Linked DNA regions of Homo sapiens: all the other regions are linked to region 1. Evidence: promoter capture Hi-C in human tissues and cell types (Jung and others, 2019). All regions are on one chromosome and are shown on one strand. Each heading gives the region's core, a stretch centred on a gene start or on the middle of the fragment in contact. The rest is flanking DNA. Distances are from core to core; before and after follow the strand shown.

Region 1 (3,895 bases), core at 621-3,120:
AGTGATCCTCCTGCCTCAGCCTCCCAAAGTGCTGGGACTACAGGTATGAGCCACTGTGTCTAGCCCCCTTCTCGTTTATACAATTCCCTTGTTACCACCCATATCCAGTGTTTTGTAATAAAAATGTCTTATGGTTTTACAGCAATTTAGTTTCCGAGACATTGTTTCTTACAACAGTTCTGCTAGGTGTACATTATTATGCTCATTTTAAAGAGAAGGAAACTGAAGTCTAAAAAGTTGAGTCGGTTCACCTTTGGTTACAATGAGTCATTGTTACACAGGGATTATTTTAACCTGTGTCCAGTGATTTTTCCCCCACCACACCTACTCTACACTCTGCTGCTAATGCTTTTGCAGGGAGAAAAGGACTCCGTGTTAAGACTGAGGGCCGGGCGCGGTGGCTCATGCCTGTAATCCCAGCACTTTGGGAGGCCGAGGCAGACGGATCGCCTGAGGTCGGGAGTTCGAGACCAGCCTGGCCAACATGGTGAAACCCCGTCTCTACTAAAAACAGAAAATTACAAAAATTAGCTGGACATGGTGGCGCATGCCTGTAATCCCAGCTACTTGGGAGGCTAAGGCAGGAGAATCACTTGAACCCAGGAGTTTGAGACCAGCGTGGGCAACATAGGGAGACTTTGCCTCTACAAAAAGTTTAAAAATTAGGTAGGCGAGGTTGCGGTGAACTGAGATCACTCCATTGCACTCCAGCCTGGGCAACAAGAGCGAAACTCCGTCTCAAAAAGAAAAGACTGGGAATAGGAATCAGAGACTGCTGTCCCAACTTACAGAATCGTATACAGTTCTAGCCGCCAGGACCCAAGAATGATGTCATCTCGGCACTGTCTCTAGAACCATTCATTCTTTCTAAGCCTGGAACTTAGATGAGTGAAAGCAGGTTCCTATTACATAATTATGATCTTGATTGCCCTGGGCCTACTCAACTGTAAATTTTTTCCAGAGCCAGAAAGGCTTCACAGAGGACAACTTTACCCTGAAAAGAAAGGACCTCTTTGGTCAGTGGTCCTCAACTCTGACTCACCTGAAAGCTTTACAAAAAGTACCAATGCCCAGGTCCAGCGCTGGAGATTTTAACTGGCTTGGGGTAGAGCCCTGGCATCAGTATTTTTAGAGGCTTCCCAAGTGATTGCAATGTGCAGCCAGGCAGAGAATTACTGCTCGGTAAGTGGGATGACTGGGGAGTGGGAGATCAAATACTCTAACGTCTCCCAGCACCTATTCTAGAGATCAGTGGGGCAGAAAGGTAGAAATAAAAGGTGGAAAGGGATGAAATGGGTAAGTGTGGGTGAATTAGTTCCAGGAAAACGGCAATCTCCACTGTGGATTCAGGGAAGGCGTCACTGAGGAGGGCTTTCTTAACAGTTCAGGTCAGTGGAAGCCAACTTGAGGCACACATCGTGCGCGGCATCCTCCGGGGAGGTCGGGTCATTTCACCCCATTTTACTGCCGAGATGACCTAGGTCCAGAGACGGTAAAGAGCGGTGTACGACTCACACAAGTCGGGGGTCCTGTGAACCGAGGTTGAGCCTGGCGGGCCTTCGGCCCGAGGTCTTTAAGCGAAGTCACCAGACCCGGGGTTCAAAGCCCAGAGGTAGGCAGGCGGCTGGCTCTCCGCCTCAGGCCTGGAGAGAACCCAGGGGTATGAACCTCAACCTCGCTCCCGCGTCCAGCTGGAGGGGCGGAGCTGGCTGGCCCCGCCTCCGGGTTAAACAAAGTTCTTTACAGACTAGGCGTGAGGGGATGTTGCAGTCTTGTTGCCACTTCCGGGCGAAGAGGTTAGCGAGAAGGAACCCCTCCACGCAGCGACGACGGGACCTGACGTCACTTCCGCGCGCCGCCGCAAACGTCAGTGTCGGGCGCAGACGGCGGCAGTGCGGCTTGCTCTTGGAAGTTCAGGCTCGGTTGTCTTTTGGGAGCCATGGAGAGTGACTTTTATCTGCGTTACTACGTGGGGCACAAGGGCAAGTTCGGCCACGAGTTCCTGGAGTTTGAGTTTCGACCGGACGGTAAAAGCAGCCTGCCGCCCGCCGGGAGCGGGGACCAGGCCTGGGGGCCGGCGAGTGGGGAGGCCGAGGGTCGGAAATCTGTGGGGAACTAGAGGAGGGAGGGACTGAGACCTGTGCAGTGCAGATCTTAAAGGAACGCCACTGTGTCTGCTCCACGGGGTCTTTCTATCCATTCAGCAAACGTTGACTGAACGCCCACTGTGTGCCAGGCTCTGTTCCACTCTTTGGGAATACGGCAGCGAAGGTAGACAAACTTCCCCTCTCGTGGAACTTGTGTTTTACTGCCGGGAGAGAGATCATAAACAAAAAGATGATTCCAGATAGCAGTGAGTGGTCAAAAAATAACATGGTAGAATAATTGCTGGATGGGCTGCTTTTAGATAGGTTGGCCATTAGAGAGCTCTCTGTAAAGGGTATATTGCAGCCGAGTCCTAATTAACAAGAAGGGCTCAGCCTTGTGAAGCTCATAAGGAAGACCATTCTACACAAAGGGAATACCAGATGTCAAGGCTGCAGGGCGGGAATGAGCTAGGCGTGTCTCAGGTGGTCAGTGTGGTTGAAGAGTGGTGAGCTGGGAGATAGCAGGAGATGATGTCGGATAGGTAGGTAGGAGCGGCACCTCTTAGGTCTTTATAGACCACGGTAAAAAGTTTGGACTTGGAAGGCCTTTTTTTTTTTTTTTTTTTTGAGACGGCTTTCGCTCTTTTTGCCCAGGCTGGAGTGCAATGGCGCGATCTCGGCTTATTGCAACCTCCGCCTCCCGGGTTCAAGTGATTCTCCTGCCTCAGCCTCCCGAGTAGCTGGAATTATAGGCGCCCACCACCACGCCCGGCTAATTTTGTATTTTTAGTAGAGACGGAGTTTCACCATGTTGGCCAGGCTGGTCTCGAACTCCTGACCTCAGGTGATACGCCCGCCTCGGCGTCCCAAAGTGCTGGGATTACAGGTGTGAGCCACCGCGCCCGGCCGGGCTTGGAAGGTTTTAAGCAGAGAAGAAATGTGATCTCTTCTTGAAAAAGCATTCTGGTTATTGGGTGCGGAATGGGCAAGAGTGGAAACAGGGCTATTGATTAGGAGACTGTTGCAGTTGTCAAGACACGAAAGATGTTGGGGGCCGGGCGCGGTGGCTCAAGCCTGTAATCTCAGCCCTTTGGGAGGCCGAGGTATGCGGATCACTTGAGGTCAGGAGTTCAAGACCAGCCTGGCCAACATGGTGAAACCCCGCCTCTACTAAAAATACAAAAATTAGCCGGGTGTGGTGGCAGACGCCTGTAATCCCAGCTGCTCGGGAGGCTGAGACAGGAGAATCTCTTGAACCTGGGGCGGAGGTTGCAGCAAGCTGAGATAGTGCCACTGTACCCCAGCCTGGGTGACAGAGCAAGACTCTGTCTCAAAAAAAAAAAAAAAAAAAGATACTGGTTGGGACTACAGAGATAGTAGAAATGGAGAGAAAGATTTAGGAAACTGTTGGAGGCAGAACCAACTGGACTTTGATCGTTGATAGGATTTTGTTGGCAGAGGCACTGTGGTGAAGGAAAGAGCAATCAAAGATGACAGAAGACATCCACTAAGTGGGGCACAAAGATGAATCTGACAGGCCTCGACTGTGAGGGAGATAGATTTGTAAGCAGTGATAAAACAGCACATTAGGTGTTGTGGTAAAAAGAAACAGAGGAGGCTCGCAGCAGAGAAGGGTGCACCTAACCAAGCCTGAGGGTCAGAGGAGGCTTCCTACATAAAATGATGGGAGGAGGGGATGTGAGGAATTGGTTAGGAGACGAAGAAGAGTCAAGAAGGCATTTTAGACAGCATGCAAAGAAGCTGAAAACCAAAAAGTGCTTGGGATGTTTCAGGCAGAAACCAAGTAG
Region 2 (3,895 bases), core at 357-2,856, 420 kb after region 1:
AGAATACCTTAAGTTGGCCGGGCACAGTGGCTTATGCCTGTAATCCCAGCACTTTGGGAGGCTTAGGCGGGCGGATCACCTGAGGTCAGGAGTTTGAGACCAGCCTGGCCAACATGGTGAAACCCCGTCTCTACTAAAAAAAAATAATAATAATACAAAAATTAGCCGGGCATGGTGGCAGGTGCCTGATATCTCAGCTACTCGGGAGGCTGAGGCAGGAGAATCGCTTGAACCCAGGAGGCGGAGGTTCCAGTGAGCCGAGATCGCGCCACTGTACTCCAGCCTGGGGAACAAGAGCGAGACTTCGTCTCAAAAAAAAAAAAAAAAAAAAAAAAAGAATACCTTAAGTTTATAACCTAAGATGGCCTTACATTTTAAGTCAGTGTTCTTAAAAATCACTTTAATACACAATTTAGAAATATCTTTCCTGGGAAATGAGAATTTCACTTAAAGAAAAAAAACACAGTTCTTTTTTTTTGGTACATACGATTCTTGCTGCAGACATGTTGCATGGCCCAAACTGCCCATAGCTGAACTCCTGGTGTTGTGAAACAGCCAAGTAATGGGAAAAATGGATTAAAGGACCTAAAGGTTCAAAAGAAAAGAATCAAAGTTACATCCCATATTTAGCGTAATTTCCTAAAGCAGTGATTCCTAAACTTTTCATTTTCAAAATTTTATCCTATTATATTTAGACTAATATAAATGAGCTATAGAATATCATTTCTTTGTCTTAACCATTTCAGAGAAGACTGCATTCAGACATGACTCAGTACAGAAGATGGAAGGTGATTAGAACATGGTAGTGAAAGAGAAAAAATTTTTCCAAAAGCACTTTTTAGTCTTAAAGATACACATTTGAAGATAAGTAGATCTTGGTTTGGAAACTAAGAAATAGAGAAATTAGGTGATAACTAACTAGTAGAACACTATGAAAAAGATGTATAATTATCCCTTCTATTTTCTACTGGTCTGAATAAAAATAGGTGGAACATAAGTTGGAGAAATAAAAAAAATGTTGGCAACATCAGCATTTATGAACCAAACAAAAAAAATAAGTTGAATAAAAATTAAATACTTCAGGTAATTAGTAATTTAATTATCAAGTTATCTAATTACAAACAGAGTTAGGCATCCAGTATGCACTTCTTAATTTTTGTTATTTATTTATTTATTTATTTTGATACGGAGTCTCGCTCTGTCGCCCAGGCTGGAGTGCAGTGGCGCGATCTCAGCTCACTGCAACCTCCGCCTCCTGGGTTCACGGCATTCTCCTGCCTCAGCCTCCCAAGTAGCTGGGACTACAGGCGCCTGCCACCACGCCCGGCTAATTTTTTTGTATTTTTAGTAGAGACGGGGTTTCACCACGTTAGCCAGGATAGTCTCGATCTCCTGACCTCGTGATCTGCCCGCCTCGGCCTCCCAAAGTGCTGGGATTACAGGCATGAGCCACCATGCCCGGCCTATTTATTTATTTTTACATTTATTTATTTATTTGAGACAGGGTCTCACTCTGTTGCTCAGGCTGGAGTGCAGTAAGGCGATCTCAACTCATTGCAGCCTCAACCTTCCAGGCTCAAGCGATTCTCCCACCTTAGCCTCCCAAGCAGCTTGGACTACAGGGATGTGCCACCACAACTGGCTAATTTTTTATTTTTTGTAGAGACGGGGTCTCACTATGTTGCTCAGGCTGAGCTCAAGTGATCTACCTGCCTTGGCCTTCCGAAGTGGTGGGACTACAGGTGTATGCCATCATGCCCAGGTTTTTTTATTTTTTAGTAGAGATGAGGTCTCACTATGATGCCTAGGCTAGTCTGCAACTCCTGAACTCAAGTGATACTACCACCTCAGTCTCTCAAAGTGTTGGGATTATAGGTGTGAGCCACCATGCCAGGCCCAGTATGCCCTTTAATAAATTATTACAAACTGTTTCCCCAACCAAATCTAGTGTTATTCCTTTTTTGAGAGTCTCATTCTGTCACCCAGGCTGCAGTGCAGTGGCGCCATCTCAGCTCACTGCAACCTCCACCTCCCAAGTTCAAGCGATTCTCATGCCTCAGCCTCCCAAGTAGCTGGAATTACAGGTGTGCACCACCATGCCCCACTAACTTTGTTCTTTCAGTAGAGACAGGGGTTTCAACATGTTGGCCAAGCTGGTCTCGAACTCCTGGATTGAAGTGATCCACCCACCTCAGCCTCCCAAAGTGCTGGGATTATAGGCATGAGCCACAATGCCTGGCCCAAATCTGGTGCTACTTCTAATTCCTTCAATGTGTCATTTTATTTTAGACCTTCCTACATTAATACGATGCTTTTTCTTCCTAAAAATCTCCTGCCTCTCCTTATCTTTCAACACTCAGGTCACAACTCACTTCCTCTGAAAGGTGTGTGTGTGTGTGTGTGTGTGTGTGTATTTACATTTGGAGTCTTGCTCTGTCACTCAGGCTGGAATGCAGTGATGCAATCATAACTCACTGCAGCCTCAAACTCCTGGGCTCAAGTGATCCTCCCAGGACTACAGGTATGTGCTACCCCACTGGGCTTCACCTTTAATTTCATAACATTCTATGGACATTTGGCATAACGGTATTTTATCTGATCCACATTCACTCTCCCTCACAAGGATATAAAATTCTTGTGTGCAGACACCATGTCTTTGTTCATTTTTGTATTTCAAGAGCATAGAACAAATTCCTAGCACTTGTCTTCAACAAATGTGAAATGAAGGAAACATGAAGAGTGATAGGTGGTAGAAAAAAGTCAAAATACTTTGCTTCTTTTAAAGCCAATACTTTTGGCTGGGTGTGGTGGCTCACGCCTGTAATCCCAGCACTTAGGGGGGCCCAGGCAGGCAGATCACCTGAGGTCAGGAGTTCAAGACCAGCCTGGCCAACATGGTGAAACCTCGTCTCTACTAAAAATACAAAAATTAGCGGGGCGTGGTCGTGGGCGCCTATAATCCCAGCTACTCGGGAGGCTGAGGCAGGGGAATTGCTTCAACCTGGGAGGTGGAGGTTGCAGTGAGCCAAGATCATGCACTGCACTCCAGCCATGGCGACGGAGTGAAACTCTGTCTCAAAATAAATAAATAAATAACCAATATTGAGGTGCCTGAGGGAAAAATTATGCATCTAGTAGGAATGACTCTTAGGAATGATCTCTAGACTAGGTTGCTGGTTTACTGTTAATTATGATACTAATTACCTGTATGCTACCATCTCACACTCTGGAGTTGGCCATTTCAAAATAGCTGAATGCTGGAAGACAAAAGACACACAAGAAAGGATTACAATATTTATTTAGCACTGCATTATTTACTACATTATGAGGCTTTGATAGTTTAACCACTATGAATGTCTTTTGTTGGTATGGAATGACCCTACCAAATCATCCAGCAGAGAATTCCTCTGGCTACGACTCAATGTCCAAGCTTGTTCACCTCTGGATATTAAATGGGCAATAATTCCAGCTGCAAAGTAACTGACTTCCACTTCCACACTGTGTAGGAGACTACTGATGTGGTCTATAAAATCTTTCCACATTAATTCAGAATGTAATTCTTGTACTTCAGCTATATTGTTCTGGAAAAAAAAAAGAAAATATAAAAATTAATGTAATATGTATAGTAAATGGTTAAGATAACTGTTTTTAGGCCCTGGATAACAGGCAATTCAGGAAGGTGAAAGAAAAGTATTTCCCTGAGAGAAAGTATTCAAATGAGGGCAGTTTACAGACTGCAATGAAGGTAAGAGTAAGCCAAAGACAAAGTAGCAGTTTTGTTGAAACAGAGATCATAGTTTAGGGTGGTCAAGCAGCAAAACTCTGTAGAACAGAGTGCTGGAAAGGACAAAGCTCCACACTCAGAGACAGAGCACACATGACCTGTACCCCAAAT
Region 3 (3,895 bases), core at 886-3,385, 310 kb after region 1:
ATGAGACCCATCTAGTAGTAAGTAGTGAGACCCTGTCTCTACAAAAAAAATTTTTTTTTAATTAGCCAGGTATGGTAGAATGCCTGTAGTCCTAGCTACTCGGTAGGATCGCTAGAGTCCAGGAGTTCAAGGCTGCAGTGAGCTATGATTGCACCACTGCCTTCCCATCTGGTTGACAGAGCAAAACTCCGTCTTCCAAAAAAAAAAAAAAAAGTGTTACAGTGTTGTCTAGTCAATATTTCTCCCTCCTCCATCAAACTCTGTCCCAAGGTGCAGAAGACCAGACCTATAGCAAAGTACACTGGCCAGATAGGCACATCATTAATGGCACTACCCAAACTCCTCACCACTTTCCTCTGGACTGTAACACCTCCCCGACCTCTACCTCCCAACTTGAGGAAAAAGGAATACATCTATTTCCCAAAGGTTTAGACAACTGTGCTTTTCCATACAGCACATATAATCAGGCATTCAGCAGCCAGAGGAAGGTTTGACTGCATTAATACCTTACTTCGAAAGATCCTACTGTCCACCTGTGTTAGAAGCCTCCCCTTCTGTGAAACACTAGGATGATGTCCTTCCGCTTCATAAGGTATTGGTCCACTTTTCCATTTCCATGGATATTTTTTGTTTTTGTTGAGACAAGGACTGACTCTATGGCCCAGGCTGGGGGTGCAGTTGCGTGATCTCAGCTCACTGCAACCTCCATCTCCCAGGCTCAAGCAATCCTCCCACCTCAGCCTCCCGAGTAGCTGGCGTGTGCTACCATGCCCGACTAATTTTCGTATTTTTAGTAGAGACGGGGTTTCACCATGTTGGCCAGGCTGGTCTCGAACTCTTGACCTCAGGTGATCCACCCGCCTTGGCCTCCCAAAGTGCTGGGATTACAGGCGTGAGCCACCGGCCCCGGCCTATTTACATGTTGGACTGAATTAGGTACGCTCAGCCCACTGGTAAAATAATAAACATTTTAGGGCTGTTTTCTCAGAAATAGAACTCTCCCTAGGAACTCTTTCACAAAGCATATCCATTTAGTATTGTTCAACTAACATTCACTGAGGGTCTTCAAGCATCAGGAACGTTCAGGGCGAGGGGCACAGCAGTGAATAAGCCAGGTACCCAGTCTAGAGGAGCTGCCATGCTAAGAGGGCGCGCAGACGCCTATGAGCTTTAGTACTGCCCGGTACTGCCGAGCACAGTAAGTGCAGGACAGAGGTAAGCACAGTGCAAGGCTCTAGGGGAAAGTCAGGAGGATCCGAGGCGTCCTGGAGAAGATCCGATCTGAACGGATCCTTTCAGGATGCACAAAAGTTAACAGGTGAAGATACACGGTACAAACAGAACAGAAGCAAAGCAACAGAGGCATCAGACAACTGCGTCCGGGGAGAAACGAAAGGCAGTTTGGCATTAAGGAGCATGCGGGCGATGAGGGGAAAACGGCCGTGGGAGCCTGCGGCGTCCGGGTCCCAAGCAGTCACTGGAGGGACAGAGGGAGGCCGGAATCTGCCACTCGGGCCGAGGCGCTGGGCATCAGGAGCGTTTCTCCTCGCCATCCACATCTGGAGCTGTCTCTGTGAGGGCTCCTGTGGGGGCTGTTCCTGGGAGGGCCGAGCAGGCGGCATTCGCGACCTGCCTCCCTCCGGGGCAAGCCAGCCCACACACCTCGGGACTCCGCTCAGAATCTAAAGAGGTGAGATCCTTGGATTATCTCGGGGCTGCTTCATGAACTCTGACCAGAAGAAAAGGGAAGGAGGAAGCAGAAGGCCGCAGGAACCAGCCCGAGACGCTATGACCCCAGAGATTCCGCAGAGTACAAGCCACCAAGTCGCCACGCCGATGACCCACGCGCGGAGCAGTCGAAGCTAGGAGACCGGAGGGACAGAGAAACCCAGGCACCGACCGCCCCCGAGCCTCAGAGGGCCAGCAGGGCCGCTGCTCGGTTTACCTTGGTCATGCCAACCCCCACCACGAACACCCGGCGCAGGGTCGCAGGCTCCCACGGGGAAGAGGACATGGCTGCACCAGTGCGGGACCGGGGCGGGCGCCGCGGACGACTGCCGGCACTGACAGGCGGAGACTGCACCAGAGCTCCCTGAAGCCCGAAGCCAGGGCCGCGGGCGGCAACACAGGCGCGTGAGAGTGCGCGTGCGTAGGGGCAGGAGGAGGGGGCGGGGTGGGGCGCGTCCTGTGGGGCGGGGAGCGTTCTCTAGCCCTTAGGCAGCCGAATCCCTAATTTGCGGACTTGGGCATGGGACTGAGTCAACCTGTCCCCATCTCTGATCCTGTGCTTAGGTTCTGTACGGTGAGCGGGAGTAGGCTTGCAGTGGGGCCTAAGACTGAGAGGAGGGGTTGGCCGGAAAGCGGACTCATGAAAGGTGACCCTGAGGAGAGCCGTTGGGGTTCGTGTTGGAATTGGCCTGTGTCCTGTTAGCGGTGGCAGTTGAGAGTGAATTCATGAATTTAAACTCACAGGACACCAAGAAAGCGGGGATGGGCAGGATCTCACACATGGATACAATGTCTAAATCAAAAAACCCAGGCTCCGTCACCAGCTGCGTGACCTTTTTAATCTTGTGAACAAAAGTTCTCCGAAAAGGAATTTGGAAGACAGAGACTTTATTCCAGCAAACCGGGGAGAAACAGCCTTCCATGTTTATTGGAGACCGGAGTCTCGCTCTGTCGCCCAGGCTGGAGTGCAATGCCGCGAACTCGGCTCACTGCAGCCTCCGCCTCCCAGGTTCAAGCAATCCTCCTGCCTCAGCCTCCCGAGTATCTGGGATTACAGGCGCGCGCCACCACGCCCCGCTAATTTTTGTATTTTTAGTAGAGATGGGGTTTCGCCATGTTGGCCAGGCTGGTCTGGAACTCCTGACCTTAGGTGATCTACCCACCTTGGCCTCCCAAAGTGCTGGGATTACAGGCGTGAGCCACCGCGCCCGGCTCCCCGGTTTATTTTATCTTATGTAAAAATGCAGATTCATTGAGCTAGATGAATGCATAAGTGACTATTTCTCTACCCCCCTCACATGTGAAGGTTGATCAAAGACTCAGAAGAATGCAACCGTTTGCCTCTTATCTACCCACATCTTTTTAAAATTTATTCATCTTTCCCCAATATCTGCCCCTTCCCCTATAAAAACTGAAGCCCTCAAAATCATCTTTGGAGAAAGGCACGGACCTGTCTCCAAAGATGATGCACGTCCTTAAACTTGGCAAAATTAACTTCTAAATTAATTGAGATCCGTTTCATATACTTTTCGGTTTGCAGTATCAGCATTTAGAAAGGCTCTCCTAGAAGATTCTAAGGATTGCTTCTTGGCCATTTGGCTAAGATCAAGTTTAGGAGATTCTAAGAAGCCCCCTCTGTGCTAAGTAAAGAACTACTGAGCTAGGACTAGACCAACTTAGTAAAATTGCTGCGCTCAGTGATGCACGCCTCCCATCTGCTCAGGAGGCTTCGGCAGAAAGATCACTTGAGCCTGGGAATTCAAGGCTACAAATGTGCTATGATTACACCTCTGAATAGCCACTGCACTCCAGCCTGGGCAACATACCAAGACCACGTCTCTAAAAAACCAAAACGAAACAAAAAAAAAAAAAAAAGAAAAACAAACACAAATCAGGGCACTGACATGTACAGTTGTTTCTTGAAACTGATGGACTGACAAGACAGCAATATGATTGGTGGATCAGACAAAGTTACCAACCTAATAGAACAACAAGTCCTAAGGTCAAGATTAATTGTTATGTAACAAATCCTGGCTGTCCACTGGATATTGCTTTCAAAATAAGAGTCCATAGAGGGCAGAGGGGATAGATAGTAATATAAAAGGTATTTGTTAATACCGAAAAGACTGAGAAAAAACACTTCCCTTTCCAATGTGAAGGACTAAAT

What was found. Contacts are between HindIII fragments. The study calls those that stand out against the background at their distance.
Region 2: a contact is called between a fragment that was not itself captured here and the fragment with the promoter of MAGOH in region 1, in 1 of the 25 tissues and cell types used here (IMR-90 fibroblasts).
Region 3: a contact is called between the fragment with the promoter of SCP2 here and the fragment with the promoter of MAGOH in region 1, in 1 of the 25 tissues and cell types used here (IMR-90 fibroblasts).

What each region holds. Positions count from the first base shown.
Region 1 is chr1:53,236,493-53,240,387 of GRCh38, reverse strand. It overlaps MAGOH (mago homolog, exon junction complex subunit), which reads left to right and starts at 1,870. Exons shown (of 5, transcript NM_002370.4): 1 at 1,870-2,027. The coding sequence starts at 1,940. It overlaps MAGOH-DT (MAGOH divergent transcript), which reads right to left and starts at 1,778. Exons shown (of 3, transcript NR_038953.1): 1 at 1,043-1,778. RefSeq lists enhancers at 1,859-1,988, 2,029-2,088, 1,576-2,217. The HindIII fragment of the contact is 12,596 bases long and covers 1-3,895 here.
Region 2 is chr1:52,813,222-52,817,116 of GRCh38, reverse strand. ZYG11B (zyg-11 family member B, cell cycle regulator) reads right to left here. Exons shown (of 14, transcript NM_024646.3): 11 at 3,384-3,581; 12 at 3,205-3,257; 13 at 488-585. Among named protein-coding and RNA genes, the nearest start is that of ZYG11A, 28 kb to the left of the region's middle. RefSeq lists an enhancer at 2,286-2,580. The HindIII fragment of the contact is 4,967 bases long and covers 1-3,895 here.
Region 3 is chr1:52,925,516-52,929,410 of GRCh38, reverse strand. SCP2 (sterol carrier protein 2) reads right to left here and starts at 2,135. Exons shown (of 16, transcript NM_002979.5): 1 at 1,946-2,135. The coding sequence starts at 2,014. RefSeq lists enhancers at 1,713-1,802, 1,813-1,872, 1,525-2,040 and a silencer at 2,093-2,372. The HindIII fragment of the contact is 8,329 bases long and covers 1-3,895 here.